2 separate regions of the Homo sapiens genome follow, and region 2 is linked to region 1. Evidence: promoter capture Hi-C in 16 types of primary human blood cells and fetal thymus (Javierre and others, 2016). All regions are on one chromosome and are shown on one strand. The core of a region is centred on a gene start or on the middle of the fragment in contact, and the rest is flanking DNA. Distances in the headings are between cores, read along the strand shown. Region 1 holds the start of MTPN (myotrophin). Region 2 holds the start of CREB3L2 (cAMP responsive element binding protein 3 like 2).

Evidence for each region. The method cuts DNA at HindIII sites, captures the fragments that hold promoters and counts their contacts. A CHiCAGO score of 5 or more calls a contact.
Region 2: a contact is called between the fragment with the promoter of CREB3L2 here and the fragment with the promoter of MTPN in region 1, in 1 of 17 cell types (neutrophils). The highest score is 5.0, in neutrophils.

Annotation. Positions count from the first base shown.
Region 1 is chr7:135,973,645-135,978,626 of GRCh38, reverse strand. MTPN (myotrophin) reads left to right here and starts at 1,268. Exons shown (of 4, transcript NM_145808.4): 1 at 1,268-1,598. The coding sequence starts at 1,527. The HindIII fragment of the contact is 14,647 bases long and covers 1-4,982 here.
Region 2 is chr7:137,999,007-138,003,490 of GRCh38, reverse strand. It overlaps CREB3L2 (cAMP responsive element binding protein 3 like 2), which reads left to right and starts at 1,405. Exons shown (of 12, transcript NM_194071.4): 1 at 1,405-1,887. The coding sequence starts at 1,786. It overlaps LOC124901752 (a long non-coding RNA gene), which reads right to left and starts at 1,184. Exons shown (of 3, transcript XR_007060551.1): 1 at 1,101-1,184. RefSeq lists enhancers at 1,106-1,155, 1,386-1,455, 1,546-1,635, 1,184-1,781, 1,726-1,865 and 2 more. The HindIII fragment of the contact is 8,216 bases long and covers 1-4,064 here.

The sequences.
Region 1 (4,982 bases), core at 19-2,518:
TCTAATTATCAGGGAGTAAAATTAACAAATGACAATCTAGGTAGATGTTAATATTTGGAGGGATTTCTTCTGATTTGAAACCCATTTGCTATTCTACTCTAAATGATAGCAAAAAAAAAAAAAATACATTTCCAAACACTATTGACATCCCCATTTTACACAAGTGGAAAACTGAAGCAGAAGGGGGTTCAGTAACTTGCCCAAGAAGACACAAAATTAGCAAGAAGTGGGACCTGTATCGCAAACTAAACAATTTGGCTCCAGAGTCTGTTTGGAACCCCTACACTGTACGGCAATGGTGGTAAAGTAGCTTAGTTAATGTGTTTAGTGGGTTACAAATAATAGATTATATATATGAGTTTTATATATAGTAATAGTTATATATGTATATATATTATACGTATATTTCTAGCTCCAATAAGAGCTTTTATTGGATCTATGTTCATGTGCGCATGCCTGGATCATTAGGGTTGTGAGGAACAATTCAAGTGGTAGCTATGCACTATGGCATTACAACTAAACCCTAGGAAGAACAGAACTGACTTCACCAGAACAGTCCTGAAGTTTCAAACCATTAAAAACAAACAGTAAATTTAAAAAACGCAAATTGTACTAGACAGTTTGGTTTGCTCCACTTTACGGCATCAAACTGAATGCCTGGACGTCATTTGCTGGTCAGGAAGATGAGTTAATTTTTTTTTTCCTGCCACACACTTAAGTTTTTTGCTCCAGGGAACATTATACATAGTGTTAACACACTCAATTTACATTGTAGTTTTAGTGTTGAAGATTTCCTGGAGGGCAGGAATAGCGTTATTCCATCGTTTTTAGCCCAGTCAGACTGGATGACGGAGAGAGGGAGGGGTGAAAAGGAGGGAGGGAAGGGGAAAAGGCAAGGAAGAAGGAATTCAAATTAAACACTCTTCCTATACATTTTTAGAAGCTGAGCAAGATGCCCTCCAAGATTATGTTTTTTAAAAAGTAAAGTTTTTCCCATTAATGGTGGTGCAGAAGCGTCCTAATCCCATCGAAAGTACTCTCACTCTTCCTCCATTCGCTGTCTTGACCTCCCCCGGGCCTCCTTCATTCTGCCTCCCAGTCCCGCCCACTTGTCGCCGGCTCCTACCCTCCACTCTAGCCTTCCCGGCAGCCTGTACATTGCGCATGCGCACTAGTGGCGTTCGCGCCGCGGACCCAGAGAGAGGCGTTCCGCGGAGGAGAAGAGGAAGAGGAAGTTGGGGGAGGGTCCTAGCGGGGAGTGAACCGGAAGTGTAAAGGTTCCTGCCTCTCCTCGGCCAGGCGGAACCTCTCTGCTGGGCCCGGTGGCCGCAAAAGAACTTTCTTTCTCCCGCCCGAACGGTCGCCGCGGCCAACTGCCTCGCCCGCCTGGCAGCCTAACCCTCCTTCTCTTCTTCTCCTCTCCGGCTTCGCGCGGCCCTGCCTCCCTCTCGCCCGGCGGCATCCGCTTGCTGCTGCCACCGCCTCCTCATCTTCTGCCCGGCCAACCGGCCTGCCCCGCTGCAGTGATGTGCGACAAGGAGTTCATGTGGGCCCTGAAAAACGGAGACTTGGATGAGGTGAAAGACTATGTGGCCAAGGTAAGCGGGGATGAGAAGAGTAGGCGAGAACACGGAGGTGGGCTGGAGATGAGGCTGAGGAAGCTGATGGGAGCTGGACTGCGGGGATGGGGGTGGGCGGGAGGAGAGACTTCCTGGGTGGAGGCGGCACCAAGGAGAGAGGGGCGTCTAGGGAGGAGCTAAACTGAAAGAAGGGTCCAGGTAACTTGGTAGCGTTCTGTGTCAGGTAACTGCTGCGTTAATACAGTTAGGCGCTACCTGACTTCCTGGCCTCTTGGGGGAGGGGAGGAGTGGTGTCTGGCTCATCCAGAGTTTCTTCTGCGCACTGATCATTTGAGTTTGGCCCTCTTCTACACCAAAGTTACTTAAACCTTTCTTTGAATGAGGTAATTCTCCATCTTGGACTTACCCATTACTAAATGAAGTAACCTAAGTAATTAGGATCAGAGGAACATGTTTTTTAACTCTCGGCCTGGTGTGAAGTTGAAGAATTCATTGACCGTGAAAAGAGTACCGAAAATAGAAATAGTTAAAATTCTGAAACTGAGTATCACTTCACTGTGGTGTCTTAACTTTGGGTGTGGCCTTTTTCCTTTCCCCCACCACAACAAATACATATTTGCTTCAAGTGGTAAGGTTGTCAACTGGCATCTGGGAATGTTTAAGGTATCTGAATAGTTTTTAAACAAGCATGTTAACTTCAGTTATTCCATTCTTCTCCCTGATTTCACCTGAAATGCTTACATGTGTAGTAAATAGCAATGCAGTTTAGTGGCAGTGTATTTGGGGGGTAAAATCATGATGAAGAAAGACAAACTCAAACCTCAGCCCCAAATATAAAACTGAATCGACATTGTGGCAGAGTGGGAAACTTAAAATTCCAAGCTAGCCTGTCTTTCCATCCTGAAACTGTGCCTTTGTAATTATGAGAGAACTTAACATGTGATTTTAATTTAGTGATAATCTAAAATGAATCTTCCAAAACAAGTATAATTTTATGACAACCACGGATGGCATCTTGCTCACCTTCTAAAAGTGTGAGAACCCAGTCTAGATTTTAACTCTTCAAAGAATAGGACCTGACCTGGGTTTTTGCTTCAGAGGCTGTGTTAGGAAGCAAGTAAGCGAAGCAGTTTCTTAAAACTTACAGGATTGTGCAAGGCAAACTGCTGAAGGTTTTTACTTTATTTAATGCCATTACAATTTAGACTTTTTGGATGCTGCTTACCTGCTTAGTTTTTTGCAGTGGAGTTTTAGGACAGGCTGTCTTCTCGTCACTGCCTTCTCAGCTGGTAGCCAACTGAAACTTGACTTATTGGCTATTTCAATATAAAGCTAAAAGGTAGAAATTATTTGGTACACTTACCAGTGGTGGGACACTGCAATACTCTGGAAGTAAGTGGGCTTTTGTTTTCCTGTCATGGTGGAACCTAGGTTGTTTGATATACTTGAAATACAAAAAGTTGATTAAGTACTAACTGAACTTACAGCTACCAAAATAACACAATGTATTTAGTGTTTTCCTGACACATTATTTTATGTCATCCTTGTGAATACTGGGAAGTAAGTCCTATTATTGGTCCCATTTTACAGATTACTGAGATGCAGGATACTTAAGAAAAGTTATGGAGATGGTAAATTGTGAAGCAAGAACTAAATTGCTGACTCCAAAACTGAAACTCTTTAACTGCTCCACGCACTATCTCTCAGTCTAAGATCTAATTGTGAAAGCGTATCATACCAAGATTTCTAGTAGGACATTCCCAGGGTCCACATTCAGGCAGGTAAATTGTGCCCAAAGAATTCTCAACTACACAAAAATATTTATATGAAAATATATGCCAATAAAGATGGATTAATTTATTTCCAATTAGTTTTATAATTAGGTTAGGTTATCATGTTCAATTTGATTATTTTCCCTATATTACTACCGTAGCCTGTTCTTCATTAATGTAAAAAATTTGCATAAGAGGGAGGGTAGACATTCAGAAAAAGCAAAAGGGAGTATTGAAAGTTGGACTATCCAAAAAGATATGACTGTAACTGTAATGTAATCTGATGTACAGAGCATTGAGCTTTATCCTTTCTTAGTTTTGAAGATTTCATAAAGTATCTTTCACTTTGTTAATGAGAAATAATAACAAGAACTGAAGTTTATACTGACTCAGCTCCCTTACGGTGCCCATTTATACTTTCAGGTCCTTATTACAGTTTCTTCTGCCCCACAGCTGTCTTCCCTGCTTATTTATTGACTCACATTTTTCATCTACCAATTTGTGAACACTCACTTTTTGAGTTTCTGTAATGTGCATCTATCTGAGTAGGTGTGTACAAAGAAAATACTAAAGAAACACTTAGACCTGTCTAGTCTTCATTCTCAGGGGTGAGAGTCTATTTTAAAAACTCTCCTCAACATTCCTGTGAAGATCTCTCATATTGTTAACCTAAGAATCTACCTGTAAGAGTAAGATAAGCATTTTAGTATTCCCCTCCTCCTCCTCTTTTTTTTGGAAACAGGGTTTTTTTGTTTTTGTTTTTCGGAGACAGGGTCTTTGCTTTGTCGCCCAGGCTAGAGTGCAGTGTCGTGATCATAGCTCACTGTAACTTCAGCCTCCTGAGCAGCTGGGACCATAGATGTACACCACGACACCCAGCAAATTTTATTTTTTGTAGAGACTGGATCTCACTTTGTTGTACAGGCTGGTCTCAAACTCCTAGCCTCAAGCGATCTTCTGGCCTCGGCCTCCCAAAGCACTGGGATTACAGGTGTGAAAGCACTGGTTCACAGGTGTGAACCCGTTTTTCCTTTATAAATTAGTATTTTTAAAAGTCAGTAATTACACTTTTCTACCTGCCTCTGACTTCTCTATTAAAGTTCGAAGTGTGAGTATCCCTAAATCATTGGTTTTAGGTGAGTTCTTGAACTTAGAAAAGTCAGTTCACAGTCCCCAAACCACTGAAAATTGTATTTTGAAATGGAAAAGACAGTATTGAGAGAAAAATTTAGATTATTTAGAGAAAAATTTAGATTATTACATTAAATGTTTCATGTATAACTTTAAGACAATATCTGAAGCAATTTTAAAGTCTTTCAACACTACATTTGGCTTCTTGACTGACTTAAGGACCACATTTAGTTAATTCATTCATTTTTACTAGGCATCTTTCAGGTCTTAAACTCTTTAGTAGTCCTGGGATGATAGTACAGAAGTTCGACACAGTTTTCAGGAAACGTAAGCATCTATATTTAGCAGACCTGCGTGAAAAAAAATTCATACTTTTATAGTAGTATGCAAATTATAAATAACATCTCATTTTCATAAAATTCAGTTGTCCGGCTGGAAAACAAGTGAAAGCCAGAAAATAAGGTATTCATGAGCAGCTATAAGAGATATTCATAGCCCC
Region 2 (4,484 bases), core at 156-2,655, 2.0 Mb before region 1:
GGTGGAGGCTGCAGTGAACTGAGATCGTGCCACTGCACTCTAGCCTGGGTAACTGAGTGAGACTGTCTCAAAAAAAAAAAAAAAAAAAAAAAAATCTCAAAAGACCCCAGAAGATAGGACCAGACAAATGCAATAGTTTATATGATAAACTGCTGCTTTAAAGACAACATAGAGTTCAAAGACATTTGTCTCCACCCGCCAAAAAATACTTGCCAAGGAAACAACACAATAGCTAATACCTGAATGTGCCATTGTAAGAAACTTCTAGAGCTAACTGGCAAAGACCTGCTTTTATATTTAAGATAGGTAAACTATATTTTTGGAATTAAAAAGGAGGAAGAAGAATCACAGTGTTCGGGGGAATTCCTTTAGAACAGGCCATCTCTTCCCTATTCTAGGAGGCAGGCCTGGTGCTCTGGCCCTGGCTCACCTTTCTGGCCTTTCCCACCCCTCCCTGCCAAGCACCTCTGCTGCAGCCACACTGGCCTCCCCAGCAATCACGTGAATACCAGCTTCCCCCGAAATCTCATTTCCTTTAGGAAGAACTTCCCTGATCAGCACGTAAAATAGCATCGATCTTGACGCATCCTGTTTTCCTGCTTTTATTTTTCTTTATAGCAATTTCCACTTTCTGAATTTAAATGTTTATTTCTTTGTTTATTGCCTGACTCCTCTGAGATAAAAGCTCTATGAATTCAAGGACTGGGCTCACTTCTGTAGGACCTGGAAAAGCATGCCATTGACTCTTATCAAGCAGATGAAAGAAAAACATACAATAAGTGAAGTCCATAAAAAATAGAAGAACCCAACAGAAAATGGGCGAAAAAGGTGAAGAACAATGACAATTTCCTAGAGCTGCACTAATATAAATGTATGTGCATGAGGAATATTTGTATTTTTGTATAATATGTAATCCATTAAAAAAATTCCGAGAGATTCAAATGAACTAAAGTACTCGAAAATGTTTAAGCCCCCCGCGCAACAACTCTCGCGCCCCCTGTCGGCGCGCTGGTAAATTTCTGAGGATTCTCAGCAAGAGGACTGAACTCACCCTCCCTCTTTTACAAAATGTATTCTTGTCGCTATTTCATTGGCTGTACCTTTCAGACGCCCCTTTCACATTAGTCAAGCCTCCAGTCCATCACTTCCGGACCCAAGCCCTCTATTGGTCAGCTGTAGGCGACAGCAGACAGCGGGCCGCGCTCAAGCAGGAGGAGTTCCTCGGTGACGTCACAGACACTCCCCGGCTACATTCCAAGGCGTGGGCGGAGACTTCCCGCGGCCTCTGCCTTTGGGGGCGGGACAAAGCCGAGAATGAGACTTCTGATTGGGTCTGCTAGGCAAGGCGGATATCCAATTGGTCAAGCCTTGGAGGGAGGTGGGGCCGCAGCTGGGTCCTGGAGCAGAGCCGAGGAGCCCTGGGGTCCCTCAAAGTTTGTGTCTGGAGCCGTAGCGGCAAGTGGGCTTGCGGCTAAGGGATTTTCCTGGGATGAGAGCGGGTCTTCTGCCTTCATTTTGGATGCACATCCCGCTTTAGCCCCGGCAGCCTTTGGTCCGGCTCGTGTCCCTGGGGATTCTCGGATCTCCGAGGACACCGGACGGGAGCGCTTGGCCATCCTCTCTCCGGCAGAGGAGCAGACGTTTGCTTTCCAAGTGCAAAACTACAGACACGCGCGCGCACACACGCAAGCACACGCGGAGAGAGAGGAACCTTGCCGGTCCGAGGCAGCTCTGCGCGTCCCCTCCTGCGCTTAGCATCCTCGGCCCAGCGCGGCCCGCACCGCCATGGAGGTGCTGGAGAGCGGGGAGCAGGGCGTGCTGCAGTGGGACCGCAAGCTGAGCGAGCTGTCAGAGCCCGGGGACGGCGAGGCCCTCATGTACCACACGGTGAGGACCCGGCGGGCGGGGCAGGAGGGCTTTCAAAGCGGGCAAGTGTTGTCACGCGAGGAGCAGCTGGAGTCCTGGGACCCGGGAAGGCAGGGTTTGGGGCAGGGCATGGTCAGAATCAAGAGGTCCTGGGCGAGGTGTACTTTAATGTCTGAGCAGATGAAGGCGGGCAGCTGGCCCCTTTACATTTCTCATGAGAGTAATGCCACTTTGTATTCCTTTAACAATTCATGCTTTTTTCCCTGAGGCTTTTTCCATCTGTAATATCATTTGCTGTTGTTAACAGTACTGTAATGCGGGAGAGGGAGTGTGTGTTTTGAGAATAACATGCCTCCGCCTAGTTTGCTATTGATTTTTTTTTGAGGTTTTCAAAAACTGGACAAGATTAAGTAGCATTTCCTTTTCATCTGTCTCGTATTCTCTCTCCCTCTCTCCCTCCCTTCCTCTTCTTTCATATTTATATTTTAAAAAGTACACGTGTGTGTGTGTGTGTGTGTGTGTGTGTGTGTGTGTGTGTGTGTTGAAAGGGCTCCTCTACGTTAGGGAGAAAGGCGGCTTTATTTGCTTTCTTAAACTGTACGACCAAGAAGTCTCCTTCCTCCCTCTTCGGAGGAAAAACCAGCAGAGGAGTATGGAAAATCTGAGACAGTTGCATATTTAAGAAAGGCTCTGGGGAAGGTGGGACAGCTCACCAGTTGCTTGTTCAGTCTTATACTAATGCCTCAGAGATCTCTTGGGGGATTAAGCTGTCCCAGAGCACGCACATTTCTTTTAAAGTTTTTAATGTCAAGTTTTTGGTATTAAGTTTGCAAAATGAAATTTTGTTTTCAATAGCCAGCACTGATCATAGGACTTTATGCAAGATCTCTTTGTTTGATTCTTATCCATGCAGACGTTTGTAATGGGGGTGGGGCTGGGGTGAGGGGGGACACTAATGAGAAAACCACTGGAGGCTTGGCTGCTTCCCCTTCACGCTTTTTTAATGGGGTCAGTACCAAGATATTTGAAACTTTCGCAAAATGGCCTGCAGGCTCCACCTCTTTGGCCTTTGACTCTGGCTGACGTTATTTTGAGACAAGGAATGAGGGCCTCCCTGCTGATTCCCACCGAAGTATTTGTGGTGGCTGAGAGTGGCTTGTTTAAAAAAAATGCAGAGTGCAGGGCTGAGAGGGAGTGGTAGTTCATGCTGGGGCAAAAGCCAGATGTTCAGTGTGATCTTCTGGGCTTTGCTTGCTGAGCTTGTCATGGGGACACTATGTGGGCAGCACGGAGGTTGGGGTACCAGATGTGCTTCCTGTCCTCAGTAAAGAACTTGGAGTATGTTGTTCCTCAAATATCTTTTGATGAATGGGTGCTCCAGGAGTTTCTACTGACAGGCTACATTTTATCCATATGCAGAGGGGCAGCCCTTCTCTTTTGTTCTTGAAGTATTCTTTCGCTGTGACAGTGTCTCATCCAGCAGCTGCAATGCCACAGCTAGGGGGTTGTCTTTCAGCTGGTGGGATGAATTACGCACAGGCATCTACCTTGCTGTTCTTTGGCCCTGTAGCTTGCATTTGTGAGTTCACAGGGAAAGGTGCGAGATGCTACCCGTGACTGTGGCATTCACTCTGGGAAGAACTGCTTGGACTGGCTCTAACTAACACCTTATGCACACTTTCAGGGAGTAGAGGCCTTACATTTGCTTTGATATTAACAGCCCAGTTTTTCTGTCATTGTGATAAAGCAGGAATGTGTGATTATTTTTCTTTTATTTCTATTTTTAAAAAATGCTTATTATGTCCTCCACTTAGGTACATGTCTGTTGTGAACAGCTCATTCCTGTAAAATGCTGCTCATCATTGCTGCAAGTCAGTGCAACAAACTGTGCATATGAATTACTGTTGAAAGAGGTATTGGTTTAGCAGCACAAATGATTGGGTTATATTTCTCTCAAACTAAGGGACGTTTGGGAGAGGTGGGGAGATAATTTTCCCATCTGTTTCCTGAACTCTGTTAGATATCCAGGGGCAGAGCTGTTTGTTACTCTAGCTGAATCTTTATGTAGAAAAAGGATGGCCTGATTATTCATTCAGTCAGAGAGATATTTGTTCTTTCGATTAATATTTGTGGAATATATAAAGCACTTGGAAACATGAGTGAACAGAAGCAGACAAAATCCCTGACTTCTAGAAGCTTATATTCGTGTGTGTGTGTGTGTGTGTGTGTGTGTGTGTGTGTGTGTAGGGGAACATAAACAATAAACATTATAAAGAAGTGATTATGTTGGATGAAATAAGTGTTATGGAAAACGTATAAGTAGAACAAGGTGAGGGGGATAGAGAATACAAGGTGGAAGAAGAGCAAACTATGGGATTGAACTGAGTGATCAGAGCAAGCTTCCCATAGAAAATGGATCTGAACAAAAATTGGAAGGAGGTAAGAGTGTTAGCTCAGCAGGATGAAGAACTAGAGCAAAGGCCTAAGGTAGGTGTGCATTTTCATGAGACTGTGTTAATATCATGTATTTCAGATTACTCATTTTGGTGAGTTATTTGTCTTATAAACTCTGGGTGCTTCTGAGACACCAGTGCCTGTTTTTGGAATGATTTCATAAA